Regions from separate parts of the Homo sapiens genome. Here region 1 is linked to region 2. Evidence: promoter capture Hi-C in human tissues and cell types (Jung and others, 2019). All regions are on one chromosome and are shown on one strand. The core of a region is centred on a gene start or on the middle of the fragment in contact, and the rest is flanking DNA. Distances in the headings are between cores, read along the strand shown. Region 1 holds the start of GPATCH1 (G-patch domain containing 1). Region 2 holds the start of LSM14A (LSM14A mRNA processing body assembly factor).

The links. The method cuts DNA at HindIII sites, captures the fragments that hold promoters and counts their contacts. A contact is called where the count stands out against the background at its distance.
Region 1: the fragment with the promoter of GPATCH1 here is called in contact with the fragment with the promoter of LSM14A in region 2 in 1 of the 25 tissues and cell types used here (dorsolateral prefrontal cortex).

What each region holds. Positions count from the first base shown.
Region 1 is chr19:33,079,607-33,083,460 of GRCh38, forward strand. It overlaps GPATCH1 (G-patch domain containing 1), which reads left to right and starts at 1,575. Exons shown (of 20, transcript NM_018025.3): 1 at 1,575-1,660. The coding sequence starts at 1,588. RefSeq lists enhancers at 1,470-1,799, 3,435-3,854. The HindIII fragment of the contact is 22,582 bases long and covers 1-3,854 here.
Region 2 is chr19:34,170,857-34,174,415 of GRCh38, forward strand. It overlaps LSM14A (LSM14A mRNA processing body assembly factor), which reads left to right and starts at 1,648. Exons shown (of 10, transcript NM_015578.4): 1 at 1,648-1,907. The coding sequence starts at 1,787. The HindIII fragment of the contact is 14,704 bases long and covers 1-3,559 here.

The DNA of each region.
Region 1 (3,854 bases), core at 325-2,824, 1.1 Mb before region 2:
GGAGGCTGAGGCAAGAGAATGGCGTGCCTGGGGGACAGAGCGAACTCCGTCTCAAAAAAAAAAAAAAAAAGAAACAACAAGACCATGTCCTTTGCAGCAACATAGATGCAGCTGGAGGCCATTATCCTAAACAAACTAATGCAGGAACAGAAAACCAAATACTGCATGTTCTCACGTATAAGTGGGAGCTAAACATTGAGCACACATGGACATAAAGAAGGGAATGACAGGTGCCAGGCGCAGTGGCTCACGCCTGTAATACCAGCATTTTGGGAGGCCGAGGCGGGTGGATCACTTGAGGTCAGGAGTTCAAGACCAGCCTGGCCAACATGGTGAAACCCAGTCTCTACTAAAAATACAAAAAAAAAAAAAAAAAAAAAAAAAAATGGCCGGGTGCGGTGGCTCACATCTGTAATCCCAGCACTTTGGGAGGCCAAGGTGGATGGATCGCCTGAGGTGGGGAGTTCGAGACCAGCCTGACCAACATGGACAAACCCCGTCTCTACTAAAAAAAAAATTACAAAATTAGCCAGACATAGTGGTGCATGCCTGTAATCCCACCTACTAGGGAGGCTGAGGCAGGAGAATCGCTTGAACCCGGGAGGCGGAGGTTGAGGTGAGCCGAGATCGTGCCATTGCACTCCAGCCTGGGCAACAAGAGTGAAACTCTGTCTCAAGAAAAAAAAAAAAAAAACCACCACAACAACCAACCAACCAAACAAACAAAAATTTAGCAGGGCGTGGTGGGGTGGACGCTTATAATCCCAGCTATCAGGAGGCTGAGGCAGGAGAATCACTTGAATCTGGGAGGCGGAGGTTGCAGTGAGCTGAGATCGCGGCCACTGCACTCCAGCCTGGGCGACAGAGCGAGACTCTGTCTCAAAAAAAAAAAAAAAAAAAAAGGGAATAACACCAGGGCCTACTTGAGGGTGGACCTACTTGAGGGTGGAAGGTACGAGGAGGGTGAGGATCGGAAAAACTACCTATTGGGTACTATGCTTATTACCTGGGGAGGAAATAATCTGTAACCCAAATCCCTTGCGACATGCAATTTACCTATATAACAAACTTGCACATGTACCCCTGAACCCAAAATAAAAGTAAAAAATAATAATAATAAAAATAAAGCGAAGCCCCACGGGGCGAGCATGAAATCTGGGAGCTCAGCCATTTCCCTGGAGGTGGCTGGGTGGGCGGTGGGAGTGGACGGGGCTGGGCAGTGACTGCTGCCAAGGCAGGGGGCTGGCGCGAGGGACGGGGGTAGGGGGCTGGGCAGGCATCGGTGTCGCCTCGCAGGGAACAGTTGGGTGGCTTCCAGCTTATGCCAGGAGTCTCCTCCTCACCCGCACATCGCGGGGCTAGGATGGGATGTCGTGGCTGCCAAATCCTCCGAGGCAACTCCTGCCTGGGACGGCCTACCACAGGATGGGCCTGAGAATCCGGAGCGCAGGCTCGGGCCGCTAGGACACCTTCCCCCGCCCGCGGACCCAGCCTTCCAGCATCACCGGGGTTCGCGGAGGAGAAAGAGGAAAGGCGTTTGGCCTGCCAAGGCCGCCGTAGCGAGGGGGCGGGGCCCGGAAGAGCAGGATGGCGGCGCGGGACAGTGACAGCGAAGAAGATCTGGTCAGCTATGGGACCGGGCTGGAGCCTCTGGAAGAAGGTGCGGGCCGCGTGGGCCGGCGGAGCCTGTGGAAAACAGGCCAAGGGCCCAGGATTCGGGCCACAAAAGCACAAGTCGGTGCTGGACCATTGTTAGATCGTTCCCAGCGCTGGGAACACGGCGACGAGGGAGGCGTTAGCCGCGCTCTCGGGGTGCTCACCTTCTGCAGCGACAGAGAGAGGTTTACAGGGACGGGAGACACAAGCGTGGCCGAACAAGGGGGCGGCGAGATAGAAACAAGAAAATGACGGAATAGCTAGTGTGAGAGCGGGGGGTGCTCAGGCAGTGTCTTCCCCGAGAGAGGACGTTTGAGCTCAGACTTGAAACCGAGGAAGAAAACAACCATGAGCAAATCTGGAGGGAAAGCATTTCAGGCAGAAGGAACATAAAGTGGCAAAGGCCCTGAAGTGGGAGCCAGTTTAGGAAATTGAGGGGCAGGCAGGACGGGTATGGTTGCAGCAGATGACAGCGGGGGAGACAGGTAGAAAAGAATGTCAGAGGGGCTGACAGGGGCTGGATCTTACTTGGTAGGGTAAAGAGTTTGGATCTTGTACTAAGTGCAGGATTAGGGTTAGGGTTAGGGTCATGGGAAATTACACAGGGAGGGATATATATATGATTTTTAGAGACAGGGTTTTGCTCTGTTTCCCAGGCTGGTCTTGAACTCCTGACTTCAAGTGATCCTCTCGCTTCTGCCTCCCAAAGTGCAGGGATTACAGGCTTGAGCCACTGTGCTCGGCCAATTTTTAATGTTATTCTATCTTTGATGTTGAGAATACACTGGTTGGGGATGGGTAAGAGTGAAGCAGGGAGATTAGCAAAAAGAGGTCAGGAGATGATGGTGGCATGGATGGGACAGCAGTGGTGGTGGTGTGTAGTGGTCTGGGTGGAGATATATTTTGAAAGCAGAGCTGACCATACTTGCTGGTGGAATGTGGGGGTGAGGGGCAAGATGAATCAAGGTTCTCTCCTGTGTTTCTGGTCTGTTCCACTTAACGACTTGACTTGTTCAGCAAGTTATGTATTGAGTGTCCAGTAAGGGCTGTTGGCTGTGCTAGCCCTGTAGGGAAGGCAGAGGAAGAATGGTGGAATCATTGGGCCACAATTTATTTGCAGACCTCCTGTTGGTGGGGGTCCCCTCCCTTTTTTCACCCTGACCACATCCTGCCAGGTTGATTGTACTTCTGGGATATCTCCACTTATGCCCCCTTTATTTCCTACAAACAGTTCTGGTGGAAACTTCTGCTGGATACTGGCCCTTCTTCTACCCTCGGCTTACAAAAGGTTGAGAAAGGGGCCAGGCACAGTGGTTCACACCTGTAATCCCAGCACTCTGGGAGGCTGAGGTGGGAGGATTGCTTGAGGTCAGGAGTTTGAGACCAGCCTGGGCATTGTAGTGAGACTCTGTCTGTAACAAACAAACAAACAAACGAAACAAAAGGCTGAGAAAGGCTAGTCTTCCGAATGCTTTTTATGTGTTTGAAGTCAGCTGTTGCATTTTCTTAAGACATCTCTGTTCTACACTCACTATCCCAAGTTCTTTTTTTATAGAGACAGGGTCTTGCTGTGTTGACCATGCTGGTTTCAAACTCCTGACCTCAAGCGATGCTCTCACCTTGGCTTCCCAAAGTGCTGGATTGCATGCATGAGCCACAGTGCCCAACATTTTTTATTTTAAAAATAGAGATGAGGCCGGGCGTGGTGGCTCACGCCTGTAATCCCAGCACTTTGGGAGGCCGAGGCGGGCAGATCGCGAATTCAGAAGATCCTAACCATCCTGGCTAACACGGTGAAACCCCGTCTCTACTAAAAATACAAAAAAAAATTAGCTGGGCGTGGTGGGGGGGGGCTCATGTAGTCCCAGCTACTCGGGAGGCTGAGGCGGGAGAATGGCGTGAGACTGGGAGGCAGAGCTTGCAGTGAGCCAAGATGGCGCCACTGCACTCCAGCCTGGGCGACAGAGCGAGACTCTGTCTCAAAAAAAAAAAAAAAAAAAATAGAGATGGGATCCTTCTATGTTGCTCAGGCTGGTCTTGAACTCCTGGCCTCAAGTAGTCTTCCCAGCTCAGCTTCTTAAAGTGTTGGAATTATAGGCGTGACTCTCTACGCCTGGCCCCAACCATGTTTTTGTTTTTTTTTTTTTTCTGTGACAGAGTCACGCTCTGTTGTCCAGGCTGGAGTGCAGTGGCGCGAT
Region 2 (3,559 bases), core at 398-2,897:
CTATCTCAAAATGTTTACATTCTAGTGAAGGAGACAGATACATACAAATAATTAAACAGACATACTTGAGAGAGATACATGCTATAAAGAAAATACAAGCTGAGTTAAGGAGATGAGTGGTATTATTTTAAACAAGGCTGTCAGGGACGTCATCTCTGGAGGTGATGCTTGAGCAGAGACTGGAATAAAGTGCTCAAGTACTGGTTGAATTAGACGCGACTGGAACAGAACGAGAAGCTAAATCATGTATATCCTTAGACACCAAAGTCTGGTTTTCTCTCTGTGTAACATGGGATCAGTAGAGTGAGTAGAGGAAGGACATGATCTGAGTTAGATTTTTTTTTTTTTTTTTGAGACGGAGTCTCGCTCTGTCGCCCAGGCTGGAGTGCAGTGGCACAATCTCGGCTCACCACAACCTCCGCCTCCTGGGTTCAAGCAATTCTCCTGCCTCAGCCTCCCAAGTAGCTGAGACTATAGGCGCGCGCCACCACGCCTGGCTAATTTTTTTATATTTTTAGTAGAGACGGGGTTTCACCATGTTGGCCAGGCTGGTCTCGAACTCCTGACCGGTGATGCGCCCGCCTCGGGCCCCCAAAGTACTGGGAGTACAGGCGTGAGCCACTGCGCCCAGCCCTGAGTTAGATTTTAAGAAGATCTCTCTGGCTGCTGTATTGAGAATAAAGTACTGGGGGCAAGAGTTGACACAGAGGCAACTTTTAGAAGGCTACTGCAATAATTCAGCCCGAGTAATCGTGGCTTGTGGGAGAAGTGTAGGAATGGAGATGAGAAGTCAGATTTAGGATATATTGTGTATACATAACGGAGAGGTGTAGTCAGAACAGATGTGGAAGCAAGACAGGGCAAGGCTGACTCACGGCTTTTAGTCTGAGCAGCTGAGTAAAAATGGTACCGTTTACATCAAATAGGGAACGGTGGTGAAGGAGCAGGTTAGAGGGGAAACAGGGAGCATGGCTTTGGACCCTTAACGTTTGAGATTCGACAGAAACCCTGGTTCACGGAATTGATCCAAGCTACATACTGATAATTGGGATTAGTGAGTTACAATGGCGTTGCAAGCCATGAAACTGGTTCAGACCGGCTGAATGAGCGGGACAGGAAGGGGCTGAAACACTTGAGTCCTTGTGAGAGCCCCAGCTCCAGGGGCAGCCTCGGGGGAAGCTCCCCGGGCGATGACTGCGGTAATGGAGCCGTAGGAGCTCCACGAGGTGCAGGTTCAGCGTCTTAGAAGGATGAGCAGCGGCTCGCCACAGCTCGGAGGCGGGTGGGCAGCGCTCCAGGCCGAGGGCCCCGCGTCGGCAAAGACACAGGACCCACGACAAGGCGGCCACGGCCTGAGTCAAAAGGAAGGCCGCGCGCCTCCTCTCCAGCCCGCAGCAAGCGGGTGCCACGAGGCACTCAGCCGGTCCCCGAAGTTCCTCTCACGCGGCCCCAAGACCACCACCGTAGTCCAGGCCAACAAGCGCTGCCGGGACTCCCGAGGCCACGAATGAGCCGGGAGCCACCAGTAGCCGGCCAAGTCTCGCGAGAGCGCGGCCTCGCCCTCCCAGCATGCCCCGCGCCGCCGCCGCTGCCGCCGCCGCCGCCGCCGCCGCGCCGCGGCTTGAGGGCGGGAGGCTGGGGGAGGGTAGCGGAGCCGGCGCCGCCGCCATGTTGGGTCTGAAGCGGCTGCTGTAGGCGCCGACGGAGCGAGCGGGCGTGCGGAGCGGGCGACAGTGGCGTGGGATCTGCCTCTCTGCGAGCAGCTGGGAGCGGCGGCGGCGGCGCCATGAGCGGGGGCACCCCTTACATCGGCAGCAAGATCAGCCTCATCTCCAAGGCGGAGATCCGCTACGAGGGCATCCTCTACACCATCGACACCGAAAACTCCACCGTAGCCCTTGCCAAAGGTACGCGGGACCGGGCCTCAGGGTGGGGGCCGAGCCGGGCGCCGCTCGGGGCTGCTCCCCGCTCCGGCCCGCGGCCTCCTCGTTCCCTCCCCTCCCTCCGTCGAGCTCCGGGAGGCCTCTCGCCTCCCTTCTCCGGGCCCCGGCGTCGCGGGCCGGACCGCGGCCTCCCCGCGGCTCCCTGGTTTCCGCCCCCCGGAATGTCCGCGCCTGAAGCCCGGGGAACTACGGGACTGAGTGCGCGGCGGGCGGCCCTGAAGTCCGAGAACGGGCCGGAGAACACGGAGAAACGCGTCTTCCAACTCCGAAATTCGGGGCTTCTGCCGTCTTAGCACAAAACAAAGCCGGAGTATTCAAAGAATTTTTCCGCCCAGCTTGAGTTCATCGCGGATGCGTTGACTACACAGCACCCATTTTCTCACTTTGTTCATTTCAATTCGTGGCGATCTTCCTCTGGTGAACTCTTGAGTAATGTGCTAAAACTTTGGGTTTGCTCTGCGACGCAGACATTCTCGAAATGCCATCGATGCCGTGGAGCAGATCCCATCTCCCTCGGCTCATCCTCTGTTGGTATTTACCTGTTAAACCGGAATCCTCAAAGCCTGTTGTGCAACCACCTCATTAGGGCGCGTGGTAAAAATGCTTGCTGCTGCCCCGACGCCCCTGTTTCTGGAAACGGGTTCAAGCTTGATCCAGGATCCTTCTTGACCAGGCAAGCTTGACCTTTGATCCAGGCTCAGTGGGCGTTGACTGATCCCTCTGGAGGCTCTCTGGGAAAGGGAATTCGGCCGAGAAGGAAGGTGCCCCTACCCACAGTGTTAATATTTGGCATCCCTAGAGTCTGTGTGGGTTTTGTTTCCGTTCACACGTGCAGGGCCTTTGCTCCGCCAGGAAACCAGAAAGAAAATAAACTTTAGCTCCTGAATCTTAAAGGAAATCTCACAACAGTGTAAAATACTTTGAGGGAAGCTAGATAACCTAGGTGATTTTCCCAGCACTTCTGGTAGAGGTGGGAACTGCATAGCATGGTTAGGGACCCTGTGGATAGGTTAGGTCCAAGGATAAAGAAGAAGATTTTCGAAATCTGTAAAATTTTAAAAATCGTTAACAGATAGGGGAGTGGTTTCACGGGATCAAGTATTTAATAATATTTCTTGGATGCTCTGGTAAATCCTTTATTTATTTATTTATTTATTTATTTTTCTAAGATGGAGTTTAGCTCTTTTTGCTCAGGCTGGAGTGCAAAGGCAATGATTTCGGCTCACTGCAACGTCCGCCTCCCGGGTTCAAGTGATTCTCCTGCCTCAGCCTCCCAAGTAGCTGGGATTATAGGCGCCTGCCACCACCCCTAGCTAATTTGGTATTTTTAGTAGAGACGGGGTTTCACCATGTTGGCCAGGCTGGTCTCGAACTCCTGACCTCAGGTGATCCACCCGCCTCGGCCACCCAAAGTGCTGGGATTACAGGCATGAGCCACCGCGCCCAGCCTCTGGTAAATCTTTTTAATAGCCCTGGTGTTGGGACAAATCTTATACCTGGGTAGGGAACCTTTTGATGTTACAGAACTGTACACCATAAAGGAGTAGTATGAGATGGTGATAGTTGCACAACTCTGCAAATTTGCTGAAGATCATTGAATTATACACTTTTTAAAA